Linked DNA regions of Homo sapiens: all the other regions are linked to region 5. The links are contacts of gene promoters, found by promoter capture Hi-C in blood cells and fetal thymus (Javierre and others, 2016). All regions are on one chromosome and are shown on one strand. Each heading gives the region's core, a stretch centred on a gene start or on the middle of the fragment in contact. The rest is flanking DNA. Distances are from core to core; before and after follow the strand shown. Region 1 overlaps KIF21B (kinesin family member 21B). Region 2 overlaps ASCL5 (achaete-scute family bHLH transcription factor 5). Region 3 overlaps INAVA (innate immunity activator). Region 4 overlaps KIF21B (kinesin family member 21B). Region 5 holds the start of KIF14 (kinesin family member 14).

Region 1 (2,700 bases), core at 91-2,590, 390 kb before region 5:
ACCCAGGGCTCTCTCCATCATGGGCAGGATCCGGCCCCAGCTGTCGAAGGAGAAGATTGAGGGCTGTCACATCTGTACCTCTGTTACCCCGGGAGAGCCCCAGGTCCTGCTGGGGAAGGACAAGGCCTTCACCTATGACTTTGTCTTCGACCTGGACACCTGGCAAGAACAGATCTATTCCACCTGTGTGAGCAAGCTCATCGAGGGCTGCTTCGAGGGCTATAATGCCACGGTGCTGGCCTATGGGCAGGTAAGCCATCTTCACGCCCACCTATGGCGGCTCCAGCCTTGGTCTCCCTGCATCCAATGGAGAGAAAGCTCCACCTTCAGAGCAGCTGAAACATAGCCTCAGGGTTTTGTCTATTGTCTAAGGAGGCCGTTGCACCGCTGGTTAGCAGAGGGAGGGCTGTCAGTGATTTCCCCAGAGTGTGGCTTCAGGACCAAGAAAGCAGCAGGGGAACCGGGCTGGGAGGTAGATGAGCTAAGGGGATTTGGCCCAGGTACAGGGCTTGCTGGTGCCCCCAAAGGGTGCAGGGTTACACCCTCCTATCTTTGCCAATGCAGACGGGGGCCGGGAAGACGTACACCATGGGCACTGGCTTTGACATGGCAACGTCGGAGGAGGAGCAGGGCATCATCCCGAGGGCCATCGCACACCTCTTTGGGGGCATTGCCGAGCGCAAGCGCCGGGCACAGGAGCAGGGCGTGGCTGGACCTGAGTTCAAAGTCAGCGCCCAGTTTCTGGAGGTACTGTGGCCCCATAGGGTGGGCAGGTGGGAGGCTTGGTGGACAACAGGACCATGGAAGCCGGGCCTTCCTCCAGTGCAGTGGAATGAGTCCTGGGAACCATGGGGGCATCTCCAGGTGATGAGTTCCCTGCTATTGAAAGAATCCAAGCAAGGGCTGGAGGACTACTTGGTGGGACACTCAAAAGGGGTTCCTGCATCAGATGGAGCTTGAGTTGATGACTGTATGATCCCTTCACACCCTGACGTGTTCTAGCTCTGACACTGATTAGCCTTGTGACCTTGGGCTAGTCATTTACCACACTGAGCCTCATCTGCAAAATGGGGTGGTACCTGTTTCCTTAGGGTTTTGTGAGAACCCTGGCTCTCTCCCTTCCTTCTGGCCTTCTCTGGGTTCCCCCTCAGCCTCAGGGCATCCTATCCTGCCCCTTTCTGGCTCAGATGCTTCCTGGCCCCCTGAGTCTTCTCTGACCCCAGGGCAGAAAGGTCCTCTAGGAAAGGTCTTTCTGTGCACCTGGCCCTTCCTGTCTCTGGGAGAATATCAGGCCCAGACTGTGGCAGCCAGGGAGGGGCTTTTAGTGGGGAGCAGGGGGTCTCTGTGCTCTTGACCATTGGGCCTATGCTGAGCCCCCACTCAGTAAGGGCACTTATCCCATAAACCCTGCTGCTCTGATTGTGTCCAGGTTGCCTTCTGAGGGAAGCATGTGGCTTTGGCCCTCTCCAGGCCTTCCCCAACCCCAGCCCCTGCCTACCACAACACAGCTACTCCCTCCTGGGCACACAGGTGGTGGCTTGCCCTGCAGGGTATCCTGCATTTTAGAATTTGGAGGTTTTCTTTGCCCCTCTGGACTTTCGCTTCTGATAAATGGACTGCCTATGTGTGTATGACTGTGTGTTTGTATCTGTGTGTGTGTGTCATCTGTCTGTATGTCTGTGTGTGGCTCTGTGTCTTGTGTGTCTATGTGTGTGTCTATGTGTCTGTGTGCGCATCTTTGTATGTGTGCATCTGTGTGAGTGCATCTGTGTATGTGTGTGTGTGTATGTGTGTCTATGTGTCTGTGTGCGCATCTGTCTGTGTGTGTCTGTGCGTGTGTCTATGTGTCTCTGTGTGCGCGTCTGTGTGTGTGTGTGTGTGCCTGTCTGTGTCTGTGTGTGTGTATCTCTGTGTGTGTCTCTGTGTCTATGTGTGTGTCTGTGTGTGTGTCTCTGTGTTTGTGTGTGGGTGTCTGTGTGTGTGTCTGTGTGTCTCTGTGTGTGTATGTCTGTGTCTGTCTCTGTGTGTGTGTCTATGTGTCTCTGTGTCTGTGTGTGTGTATGTTTGTGTGTCTCTGTGTCCGTGTCTGTGTATCTCTGTGTGTGTGGGTGTCTGCGTGTGTGTGTCTGTGTGTCTCTGTCTCTGTGTGTGTGTGTGTGTCTATGTGTCTCTGTGTCTGTGTGTGTGTCTGTGTGTCTCTGTGTCCGTGTCTGTGTATCTCTGTGTCTGTGTGTGGGTGTCTGCGTGTGTGTGTCTGTGTGTGTCTGTCTCTGTGTGTGTGTGTCTGTGTGTGTCTGTCTCTGTGTGTGTGTGTGTCTGTGTGTCTCTGTGTCTGTGTGTGTGTCTGTGTGTCTCTGTGTCCGTGTCTGTGTATCTCTGTGTCTGTGTGTGGGTGTCTGCGTGTGTGTGTCTGTGTGTGTCTGTCTCTGTGTGTGTGTGTCTGTGTGTGTCTGTGTGTGTGTGTGTCTATGTGTCTCTGTGTCTGTGTGTGTGTGTGTCTGTGTGTCTCTGTGTCCGTGTCTGTGTATCTCTGTGTCTGTGAGTGGGTGTCTGTGTGTGTGTGTCTGTGTGTGTCTGTCTCTGTGTGTGTGTGTCTGTGTGTGTCTGTCTCTGTGTGTGTGTGTCTATGTGTCTCTGTGTCTGTGTGTGTGTGTGTCTGTGTGTCTCTGTGTCTGTGTCTGTGTATCTCTGTGTCTTTAT
Region 2 (2,700 bases), core at 12-2,511, 500 kb before region 5:
AAGAGCAGCGCCAGGATTCATCCCGGCCAGTTTAATCTAAAGCCCGTGCTCAGGGTTTAGCAGTGGGGTGGTTGCCTCTGGGAACATCTTCCCATAACTCCACAGCATTGCAAATGCCTGGTTATATTCAGGGAACTGGGAAGGACTAAATTCCTCACCCAGCTCCACCCCCAGGAGATCCTGTAACAATCATTACTCATAAAAAAGGTGGGGACCGCTGCCCGGCCAAGAAAGTCCTCATATCAACCCAATGAGACCCTGGTAAATTCAATCGGCTGTGTGACCCTGAGCAGCTCTCTTAGCCTCTCTGAGCCTGTTTCCTCTTTTGTAAACAGGAACAGTAATACCTTCTCTCAGGTGTGAGGATAGCATGGGATAAGGAAAGCAGAGCACGCCGCAAAGCACCAAGCATCAGAGGGCACCTAATCCACGCGAGCCCATCCTTCTCCACCCTGTTTCTCTTCTTTAAGACTCTCAGCAAAGTGATGCCACATTGAGGACTTGGCTTGGTCAGCCCATGTCAAAGCTCTGTGAGCTTTTCTCTTTGTGAAACTGGATGCAGCCAGGTTGCTGCGGAGCAACAGAGGTTTCCAAACCTGAGGCAGGGAGGATGGCGTGGAGGGCAGCGTGAGGGGCTAAGCAGGCTCTGGGGCCCATGGATAGTACTTCCTCATTCAGTGCAGGCTAAGGGGGCAAGTGGGGCTGGAATCCCGCCTGCACAACACCCACCCAGAGCATGAAGCATCATTTTCTAACCCAGCAAGGTGCCATGTGGGCTCATGGTCACAGGGCCTGGCTGCCCCTTCTCCCATCAGTGTTGAAACTATACCCGTCAAGATTCTGAAAGGATTGCTTATGTTGAATATGTGGTCTGGAGTGTTCACTATGTATATGGTGGGGGTGGTGAGGTTATCCTTCTAGAAATATGTACAGGTTATGTGACAGACCCCCCAAGGGAGATTGTAAGATTTCCTATTTGGGTTTTTGTTGTTGTTTTGGGGTTTTTTTTTTTGAGACAGGGTCTGAGTCTGTCACCCAGCTGGGTGCAGTGCTGCAATCACAGCTCACTGCAGCCTCCACCTCCTGAGCTCAACTGATCCTCCCACCTCAGCCTCCTGAGTAGCCGGGACTACAGGCATGCATCACCACATCCAGTTAACCGTTTTTATTTTTAGTAGAGATAGGGTCTCTACTAAAGTATGCAGAACCTAATGAAAGATGAATACAATATTTAATGAGAGATTTTTTTCAAGTTAGTGATAAAAAGATGGCCTGCTTAATGAATGCTAAATAAATCGACACTGCTAATTATTGGTCTACAAAATTAAAACAGAACCCTATTGGAAACCACACACAAAACTGAATTCCTAAAGGAAAATGTAGCGGTGAGTAAGACTTAAACAAGACTAGAAGCACAAGGTTCCCAAGCTGGTCACAAATTCCTGGGCTCAAGCGATCCCCCCACCTCGGCCTCCGAAAGTGCTGGGATTACAGGTGTGAGCCACACACCAGCCCCTATTTGTTTCTTAAAAAAATACATTTACCCTGAAGATTTAAAGGCAGAATTTCCTGAAGTGTATTCTATTTGATGTTAGTGGGCTTAAGACCATTTTTTAAGTGTTCTGTGGTTCCATTGGGAATTTGGGGGTTAAATACAAACAGGTTTCTTTACCTGCAGGGCTTCCCAGGGCCTCTGATGCTAACATGCCCTCCAAGGGCCAACGCTAATGTGGGTATCCAAGGAGGGAAATGCGGGGAGCTGCATTTCTCAAATTATGCAGCCCTTAGGGGAAAGGTTTTAGCAACCACCTTGCCTGGAGGCAGGGGAATGAGTGAGGATTCCACAAAGCTAATGAGTTCTGTCATTCTGAGTCCTTGGGGCTTCCTTACAAATGTTCCCAGTTTTTGGCGGCAGTGGGTAGAGGGGAGGCTATGGAAGCAGTCTCCCTGTTGCTGCCCAAAAGCAGCATTATGGACTGGTCAACTCTCAGAAATCTCTCAGAGTGGTAGGAGAAGAAGAAGACTATGGAATCACTTTCCCCAATACTTCCTTCAGAGCCATGGGTTCCCTGTTGAAAGAGACATGTTCAGCCAATTCCTGACCTCAGACCCCCAACTCTGGTTCCAGTCCTGCTAAAGACAATGAGGAAAGCCTGAAAGGTAGAATTATGTTGTCTGCTTCTTCAAAGTTCACATCTGCCTTTGCCTCCCCAGGGCTTCCCACCAGTGTCAATCAACAAACACTTAACTGAGCGTGTACTGTGTGTCTCAAAGAAGGATAAGACCAGAGTTCTTGGGCTCACAGTTTACAGCCTGGGTTGGGGGCAGTGACAGGAAGAGCCCTGGGGAGAGGGCCCTCAGGTTGCCTGTTGCCCATGCAGAGTATAAGGCTGAGGAGGGTGGGGAGACAGGGCCCTGGTGAACATTGAGCACCAGGGAGAGGCCTGGGAGAGATGGGCAGGGGATGAGTATGAAACCATTAACAGCAAGTTATGATAATGTGCCATCCCCAGGGGTGTGGACAGTGAGATCCTCTGGCAATAGGGACAACAAGGGGCTAATATTGGTGGGGCAAACACTAGTGCTACACAATTAGAATTGGCAAGGTATTGCAAAGGAGGCCCAGGAGACCCCCGCTGACAATACGCCCTCTCTGGTGCAAGTCAGATTTGAGGATTAGAAAGTTCTTTGCACAATAAT
Region 3 (2,700 bases), core at 55-2,554, 290 kb before region 5:
CCTGGACTCGCTCCAGGGCTCAGAAGACTTCCTGGGCTTCTCATAGGGGTGGTCCAGGCTGGTTTCCTTCCAGGGGCTGTTCTGGACTGGAGCCCGTTCTGGGCTCCCAGCCTCAGGTCCTGTTGGCTGCAGACCCTCAAGGGTTTGGGGTGGGAGAGGCCGAGAAGGTGGGGCTGGAGACTCTGGAGGAGGTTTTGGCACTTGGGATTCCTCTGCAGGAGTAAAAGAAACCTGGTAAGGCCAGAGGCTGGGGGAACCGGCCCAACAAGAACCTCCACAAACCACAGCCCATGCCTCGCCGCTCTCCCTCCCATGCTGGCTTGTGCAGCTGCTGCAGGCCATGGCTCCAGCCCTAGATGCTCAAACATGTTTTCTTCTCCTTTGGGACTTACTTCTTCCCACACAGCCCTATTTTATGCCTTCCTCCTTCAAGAAGCCTCCCAGATTGACTCTCTTGGGCTTACAGTGCTCCACTTTCTAACCTTTGTTCCTGGTACCATGTCTGCAGTTATCTTTTGTTTACCTATTTTTCTTGTTCCTGCCATGCCCATATGGCCTATTTATTTCCTTATTGGCTTGGGCACTCCCCTGGGCAGGACTGCAACAGCTTCTCGATCCACCTTGACCCTGGCATCCTCATGGTTTGTACACAGGGTTCTTAATCTATAGACTTGTGTTTCCTTCCTGCTCCCTTCTTTTAAAAAACAGCAATGATTGTGGGCAGATTGCTCTTTGGCTCTGACTGGTGCATCTTGAAATCACACCCAAGGGTGAAGGAGGGACATCTGGGGTTGATCAGCTCTCTTGGAGTTCACCTTTCCTTTCCCTGTAAAAATAATGAGCTTCCAGAATGGGAGATGATCGCACATTCCCCATCTTCAACTGAGCATGTGCAAGGACATGCGGAAATTGACATGAAGTCCAAGCGGAAACCCTAAGCCTGGCACCCTAGCCTTCACTCCCACTTAAATTCCACACCAGCAAACTGCCCAAACCCCATGGTCTTGCAGTAGGAGTCCAGCCTTGACAATAGTCCCCCAAACGTCCTTCTCACCTTCCTCCAGGAGGAGCCCATCTGACAGGGAGCTGTCATCAGAGGCACTGAGCTCTGCGAAAGACAAAGGGGAGAGAAGAGAAGGAAGTGAAGAAATGAACAAACAGATATGAGTAACCAGCAGTGCTGAGCAGCTCAGGCCTGATCACTCCCCCAGGACAGCATCAGTTATGAGGAAATACCCTCTGTGTGCTAAATACACATTGGGAGTGATTTTTTTTTTTTTTAAGAGACAGGGTCTTACCCTGTGGCCCAGGCTGGAGTGCAGTGGTGTGATCATGGCTCACTGCAGCCTTGACCTCCCAGGCTCAAGGGATCCTCCCACCTCAGCCTCACAAGTAGCTGAGACCACAGGGGCATGCCAGCACACCCAGCTAAATTATTTTATTTTTTTTGTAGAGAAGAGGTCTTGCTGTCTTGCCCAGGCTGATCTTGAACTCCTAGGCTCAAGTGATCATCCCACCTTGGCCTCCCAAAGTGCTGGGATTATAGGCATGAGCCACTGTGCCTGGCCTGGCTGTAAACTTACTACATGGAAGTAGAAAAAAATAGAAGGCAGAGCTAGGAGACAGGAAACCTGATTTTAATCCTGACTCTGATACTAGCTATGCAACCTTGAATAAACCATTTCAATGCTCTAGACCTCAGTTTCCCCACCTGTCAAAAAAAAAGAAAAAGGGTGTCCTCTGGCAGGGCTTCTTGGTAGTGGAAAGGAAAGACAAAGGGTCATTTTGGAAGGCCCTTAGGATAAAAAGAATTTCATGGCCAGGCGCGGTGGTTCATGCCTGTAATCCCAGCATTTTAGGAGGCCAAGGCAGCAGATGGCTTAAGCCCAGGAGTTCAAGACCCACCTGGGCAAGATGGTGAAATCTGGTCTCTACAAAAAATACGAAAATTAGCCAGGCATGATGGTGCATGCCTGTAGTCCCAGCTACTTGGGAACCTGAGATGGGAAGATCACTTGAGCCTGGGAGGTCGAGGCTGCAGTGAGCCGTGATCACACCACCGCACTCCAGCCTGGGCAACAGAGTGAGACCCTGTCTCAAATAAAAAAAAGGGAATTTCACTCTAACTTTTGTATAATCATCTCACATCACAAACACAATTCAAAGATCCCAATGTGAGACCTCCTGTGTTACCAACAACAAGAGGAACGCAAGGTAGGAATTTGAATTTAAGATAAGGTCTGGCCAGCTGGCCCCAGGGAAGTTTCTTCAGTTGGTGATCTGGCAAGTCACCTGAAGGAAATTCAGTGTGACTTTACTTCATGGTATAGCAGCACTTTTTACCTAAGAAATCAGAGGGAACTCATTTGTGCTATTGCTTTTGAAGAAACTTAAGCCTTCAGATTTTTTTTTTTTTTTTTTTTGAGATGGAGTCTCATTCTCTTACCCAGGCTGGAGAGCAGTGGTGTGATCTCGACTCACTGCAACCTCCACCTCCCAGGTTCAAGCGATTCTCCTGCCTCAGCCTCCCGAGTAGCTGGGATTACAGGCACACACCACTATGCCTGGCTAATTTTTGTATTTTTAGTAGAGACGGGGTTTTGCCAGGTTGGCCAGGCTGGTCTTGAACTCCTGACCTCAGGTGATCCACCCACCTCGGCTTCCCAAAGTGCTGGGATCACAGGCGTGAGCCACCACACC
Region 4 (2,700 bases), core at 137-2,636, 350 kb before region 5:
TGAAGCCCCTATCACACTCTAGTTCAGTCCTGTGAACCATGTCCTGAGGGCCTTGCAGGGAAGTAGGAAATAGAAACTCCTCCACAAAGAGCCGAGGATCAGAGAAGACCCCTGAGATGAATCAGGGCCCTGCCCTGCCCACCAACTCTTTTCTAGCAATCATGTCCTGCCCAGGCTGCAGGCTTCATTAGGCTCCTGCTGTCCTCCATGATGTGACTAGCACAAGGTGTATATATGTTTTGTACCTCTGCCGATGGCTGTACATAGTGTATGAAAGTTATTTAAGCCCCATGTTGTACATTTCTGTTCCTAGATTGGATGTGTGTGTTCTAAGAAGTTGTCATAAATAAAACCTGAATGACCAATGTCTGTGGAGGTGTCCCCTGTCCCCTTCCAGGGGGCTGCTGACTTTTGGCTGGGGCCTTTGGAGAGGGAGTTGGTGGTGGTGGTGGGTGGGTGGGTGAATGGGTGCAGCAGGCCTCTGGGGCTGGGCCCAGCCTGATGAGAACTTCCTGAGCTGTGAGTTTGGGGCTTCACCAGTTAGAAAGCAGAGAGCTTTGAGAGCGTCACATTCTCCTCCAGACTCCATATGTTGTCTCCAGAGGCAGGTGCAGTTGCTGGAAGAGTGGGCAGCAGCATTTGTGGACCAACTGCTATATCCTAGGCACTGTTCAGAGCATTTTTCATTGTGTCTTCACTGCCCTGTGTGACAGGTGACATTCTCATTTTATGAAATGAGAAAGGTCTCGGGATGGATGTGACTTTCCCAGGATCACAGCTAGTAAGGACAGAGCCAGGATCTGCATCTAGACCTCCCCAACCACAGCAGCCTTTGCCTTTTGCTAACGTAACACGTACCTCTCTAGGGCCTGGACTACGCTGTGCGTGGTGCACGCCAAACGCATCTCGGTCCCTTGCCACTTATGGAAAGAAGGCAAGACTATAAAAAGATCATACAAGAAAAGAGCTCTACAAAGGTCTTTTCTTTTCTTTTTAAATAGAGATGGGATCTCACTATGTTTCCCAGGCTGGTCTCGAACTCCTGGGCTTAAGCCTTACCTCCCATCTCAGTCTCCCAAAGTGCTGGGATTACAAGCGTGAGTCACTGTGCCTCACCATGATTTTTGTCCTAGATCAGTGCTTTTCAGTCTTTAAGAACCCATATTCCCTTTTGATAACCATGAATTGTTTCACCAACTCCTGGAGATTCCGGCCCATCCCCTGGGCAGAGAGGCCCCTCGGGGAGAATCCACATCTTCATCACCAGCCACAACTGATTAAAAAGCTTAACTTCCTGATATTTGTATCAGGAATATAATAGGGTTTCTCTTTGCTTTGTTTCCCAAATATAAAACCAAATTGCTTCCTCAGCCTGCGCAGGTCCCCTGCTGTTTGTCCAGACTTATGGATGTGACAGGTGCTCTGGCCAGGGAATTCCTGGAGTCTGTAGGAGGCAGAAGTCACCGTGGGTGGGAGGGTGAAGCTTCCTGGGGAAGGTTTCCTCTAGAGAGGCTTCTGGTCCTCAAACAGAAAGGCCTTGGTGAGTGAGAGAGGGACCCTGAGCCATGGAGGGAGACACAAGTGGGCAGAGTTGCCCTGACATGCCAGCCCCGCTGGCAGGCACAGAGCCTCCTGCCCCAGGAGCAGGGTGGCTTCTTGCGGACAGTTGTTTTTGGCTGGCTGACCCGGCATCACCCATGCCACTCCCCGCCCCACCCTCGCTCCCCACAGGTCCATATTTTGCATAGGATCCTGCCTGACAGTGGGACAGAAGAGCCCACTGTGAACTGCAGGAAGTGACACCTGGGCATGGCCAGCTGCAGACTGGGCAGGGTGTGTGGGCAAGACCCAGAGACCGGCCACTGGGGAACTGGTCACGGGCCAGACCTGGAGTGGACTCCAGCCATCTGGTTCCTTCTTGCCACTGCGCTCCTCCCTGCACCCTCCAGAAAGTTTGCAGCACAAGGTAATTTTTCCAAATGTAGTTCACCCTGTCTCTCGAGGATGCCAAGGCTCCTGCAGGGTGCAGTGGGGGACAGGAACACTGGGTTAAGAGACTCTTTTCTTCTTTTAATGTGGGGTGTTGTTTTGTTTCCAGATTACATGAATAATATCTGCTTACTTTAGAAAATTTGGAAAGCAAGAGTGTCAAGAAAAATCCCGTTTAGGATATAAGCTATGGGGCAGCTTTCCCAGGCACAAGGGAATGGCACCTCTCAGAATTTGGTAAGAGCCATTCAATTGTCAGAACTAGGTGGCATCTTAAAGGTATCTTTTCCTCAGCCTCTGAAGTTGAGTTTTAAAAACAAAGATAATGTTTTCCAACTCTCTGTTTATAAATTTACATTCTACAGAATTGAGGCCCAGAGAAGCCAACAGAGTTGGCCAAAATCATCCTGGGACAGAGATGGCCCTAGAATCCATTACTTTCCATGCATTCATTACCTTGTATTCATTATTTTATGCTTGACCAAAGTGAGGGGGTGACTTGTGGGGGTGTCAGAACAGTCTTTAAAGTGGGTCTCATCCCAATGCACTTGACCGGTTAATAGATTTTTAATAAGATCTATCTTTTATCATTGCTTGTAACAAAGCAAAACTGCCCTGGCAGAGGCAGGGCACTGCAGGGCAAGTATCCAGGCCTGAGTGTTGATGCTTGGGGTGTGGTTTGGGCTGTGCCAAGGGCCAGCCATGGTGGTG
Region 5 (2,700 bases), core at 74-2,573:
CTGCCTAATTTTTGTATTTTTAGGAGAGACGGGGTTTCACCATGTTAGCCAGGCTGGTTTTAAACTCCTGACTGCAAGTGATCCGCCTGCCTTGGTCTCCCAAAGTGCTAAGATTACAGGCGTGAGCCACCGCACCTGGCCCTGATAAATATTATATTCTATTTTCTGATAGTTTCCTTATACCTTAATTTTAATTGAGTTTTAGAATGATTTTTAGAGTAAGATTTAGAATGAGTACTTTATCATCTGTTTGGTTGGTCTATATAATTGGAGCTACTTATGGTCTCTATCTCAGTGAATACTTCTTCAATATCTCTGTACTTTTTGCCTGTTTAAAAAACATTGTTGCTTTACAATATCTATTTATCTAGTCTTTCTCATTTATTTGGTTATTTTTCAGAATGTATTTGTAATATTTTTTCAGATTTCAAAATCTTATGGGGGCTGGGCGGCGCAGTGGCTCACGCCTGGCAGCTTACAAGGTCAGGAATTCGAGACCAGCCTGGCCAATATGGTGAAACCCCGTCTCTACTAAAAATACAAAAATTAGCTGGGCGTGGTGGTGCGCGCCTGTAATCCCAGCTACTCCAGAGGCTGAGGCAGGAGAATCGCTTGAACCAGGGAGGCGGAGGTTGCAGGGGCCACTGCACTCCAGCCTGGGCTGCAGAGCGAGACTCCGTCTCAAAAAAGAAAAAAAAAATTAAAAAAAGGGAACTTTTACTGAAACGGAGTTACATTGTACGGCGGCAAGAACCTTCAAGTTCTAGTTATGCCACTGCTAATTGTCTGATCTTTCACAAGTTTAACTCTAAACCTCAGTTCCTCATCTGTAAACGAGGGATAACATTAATATTTATCTCACAAGATTTTCAGGACTGTTTAAAAATTCATATAAGACATTTAGCATATTTCCTACGTGAACGCCTTGCATAGGAAACACTAGAAAAGTTAATTATTATGATTAACTTGGGGGCAAATATCCATTTACAATGTGAAGTCTTCGATGTAATGGCTTCTTTTAGATTAAAGACCGACAAGAGTGTCACTGTCATGCTTTTCGTTTGACACCCACTTCAACGAGGGGCCCGCTGCGCCCGCGACCGCCGCCCCTTCCTCTGGTCGGATTTAAAGGGGGCCAAGCTCCACGCTTTAGCAGAACCCGAGGAGGGGAGGGAGCGTTGCCTGGGAGATGAGGGTGGGGCGAGTCCAGCATTCAGAGACGGCTACCGGAGCCCAACCACCGGCACTTCCGGGGGGCGGGTGGAAGCAAAGGCGCGGCACCCGACGCGACGCCCAGCAGCCAATCAGAAGGCGGGGCGCCCATTCAAATTGCGGCCTTCTGGGGAGCCGGCGCTGGAGGTGGTGAGTGGCGTGGGGACTGTGTCGAGGGGGTCCCCAAGGTGCCGGACCCTGCGGAGGGGCGAAGTTTCGGCACTGGGGAGGGCGTGCGGACGCTTTCCCTACAGGCGACCACTGCTCTGCGGGCGGGTGGTCTTAGCTCCAGTCCCCCATTCAGTTCCTCAGCATTCCAGGTCGGCGGCGAAGGGGTCCCCGAACGAAGGGCGCAAGGCAGCGTCTCTGCTGGGACCGGGAAGCCGGACTTCAGGGCCTCTCGGCCCGTGGGCTTCTCCCCGAGTCTCCCCGAGTCGGTTGGCATTAAGAGGTAATTCTTAGTCATAGCCCCTGGTAATGACTAGCAGAGAAAGAACAGAATCACCGGATGTTTTGGTTTGGATTGTGCTTATTTTCCTTGTATTCCTTCCAGTCCTCTTTAAAATCTGATGGCGAAACTCCTCAAACAGAAACCGTATTGATTTGTGCAAATCGCAAATGGTTTTTAGTTGCAAGAGAATTTCCAGAATCTTCTTTTTGCCTTTAAATTCATTTCATAACAGGAAAATTCTGTATTTTGAGTTGAAACGTTGATGGGAGATGCTTATAAGCTGACGAATTTTTTTTGTAATGACTGTTATTTATGTAAAAATTTAAAAGCCTCATTTAAAAATGAACTTCCATTAATTTGTTCCTCGCTAGCAATAATCTTTGCAATAGTTTGAACCAGTGTCATTTTACAGGTTAGAACCCGGCATGCAAATTTAAAGTCTTGTTTACATCCTTGTAAGGAGTTGGATACAAAGCTGACTAAAAGCCAGGTCTCTTAGCTGTCACTGCTGTTCCCTTTCTTTAAAACGTTAATACCTGATAGATATTGTTGCTGTATATTTACATACACCTCTGTCTAATTTGTTGTCTTACTGCTAAAGGGCAGGTTGTCTGTTTATCTAATCTTGCATGGTTTTTCTCAACACAATTAATTTACAGTACTTATCGTACTTACTGCCTGTGGTACTTGGGAATAATCTGCCTCGTGACACCAATCAATTCAATCTTCTCTATAGGCATTCCTGTATTCAACATACATGGGCCGGACGCGGTGGCTCACGCCTGTAATCCCAGCACTTTGGGAGGCCGAGGCGGGCGGATCACAAGGTCAAGATATCGAGACCATCCTGGCCAACATGGTGAAACCCCGTCTCTACTAAAAATACAAAAATTAGCTGGGCATGGTGGTGGGCGCCTGTAGTCCCAGCTACTTGGGAGGCTAAGGCAGGAGATTTGCTTGAATACAGGAGGAGGAGGTTGCAGCAAGCCAAGGTCGTGCCACTGCACTCCAGCCTGGTGACAGAGCAAGACTCCATC

Evidence for each region. The method cuts DNA at HindIII sites, captures the fragments that hold promoters and counts their contacts. A CHiCAGO score of 5 or more calls a contact.
Region 1: a fragment that was not itself captured here is called in contact with the fragment with the promoter of KIF14 in region 5 in 1 of 17 cell types (neutrophils); the score reaches 6.4 in neutrophils.
Region 2: a contact is called between a fragment that was not itself captured here and the fragment with the promoter of KIF14 in region 5, in 1 of 17 cell types (naive CD8 T cells). The highest score is 5.0, in naive CD8 T cells.
Region 3: a fragment that was not itself captured here is called in contact with the fragment with the promoter of KIF14 in region 5 in 1 of 17 cell types (total CD4 T cells); the score reaches 5.5 in total CD4 T cells.
Region 4: a contact is called between a fragment that was not itself captured here and the fragment with the promoter of KIF14 in region 5, in 5 of 17 cell types (total CD4 T cells, naive CD4 T cells, naive CD8 T cells and 2 more). The highest score is 8.0, in total CD4 T cells.

Annotation. Positions count from the first base shown.
Region 1 is chr1:201,006,816-201,009,515 of GRCh38, reverse strand. KIF21B (kinesin family member 21B) reads left to right here. Exons shown (of 35, transcript NM_001252102.2): 2 at 28-250; 3 at 565-747. Among named protein-coding and RNA genes, the nearest start is that of KIF21B, 16 kb to the left of the region's middle. The HindIII fragment of the contact is 2,864 bases long and covers 1-2,700 here.
Region 2 is chr1:201,120,141-201,122,840 of GRCh38, reverse strand. The region is part of intron 1 of ASCL5 (achaete-scute family bHLH transcription factor 5); the gene reads left to right. Among named protein-coding and RNA genes, the nearest start is that of ASCL5, 5.7 kb to the left of the region's middle. The HindIII fragment of the contact is 9,756 bases long and covers 1-2,700 here.
Region 3 is chr1:200,906,242-200,908,941 of GRCh38, reverse strand. It overlaps INAVA (innate immunity activator), which reads right to left. Exons shown (of 10, transcript NM_001142569.3): 6 at 1,055-1,108; 7 at 2-212. Among named protein-coding and RNA genes, the nearest start is that of INAVA, 13 kb to the right of the region's middle. The HindIII fragment of the contact is 4,710 bases long and covers 1-2,700 here.
Region 4 is chr1:200,967,055-200,969,754 of GRCh38, reverse strand. It overlaps KIF21B (kinesin family member 21B), which reads left to right. Exons shown (of 35, transcript NM_001252102.2): 35 at 1-365. Among named protein-coding and RNA genes, the nearest start is that of KIF21B, 55 kb to the left of the region's middle. The HindIII fragment of the contact is 198 bases long and covers 1,288-1,485 here.
Region 5 is chr1:200,619,374-200,622,073 of GRCh38, reverse strand. It overlaps KIF14 (kinesin family member 14), which reads left to right and starts at 1,323. Exons shown (of 30, transcript NM_014875.3): 1 at 1,323-1,663. RefSeq lists a silencer at 1,236-1,385 and an enhancer at 1,554-2,055. The HindIII fragment of the contact is 3,652 bases long and covers 1-2,700 here.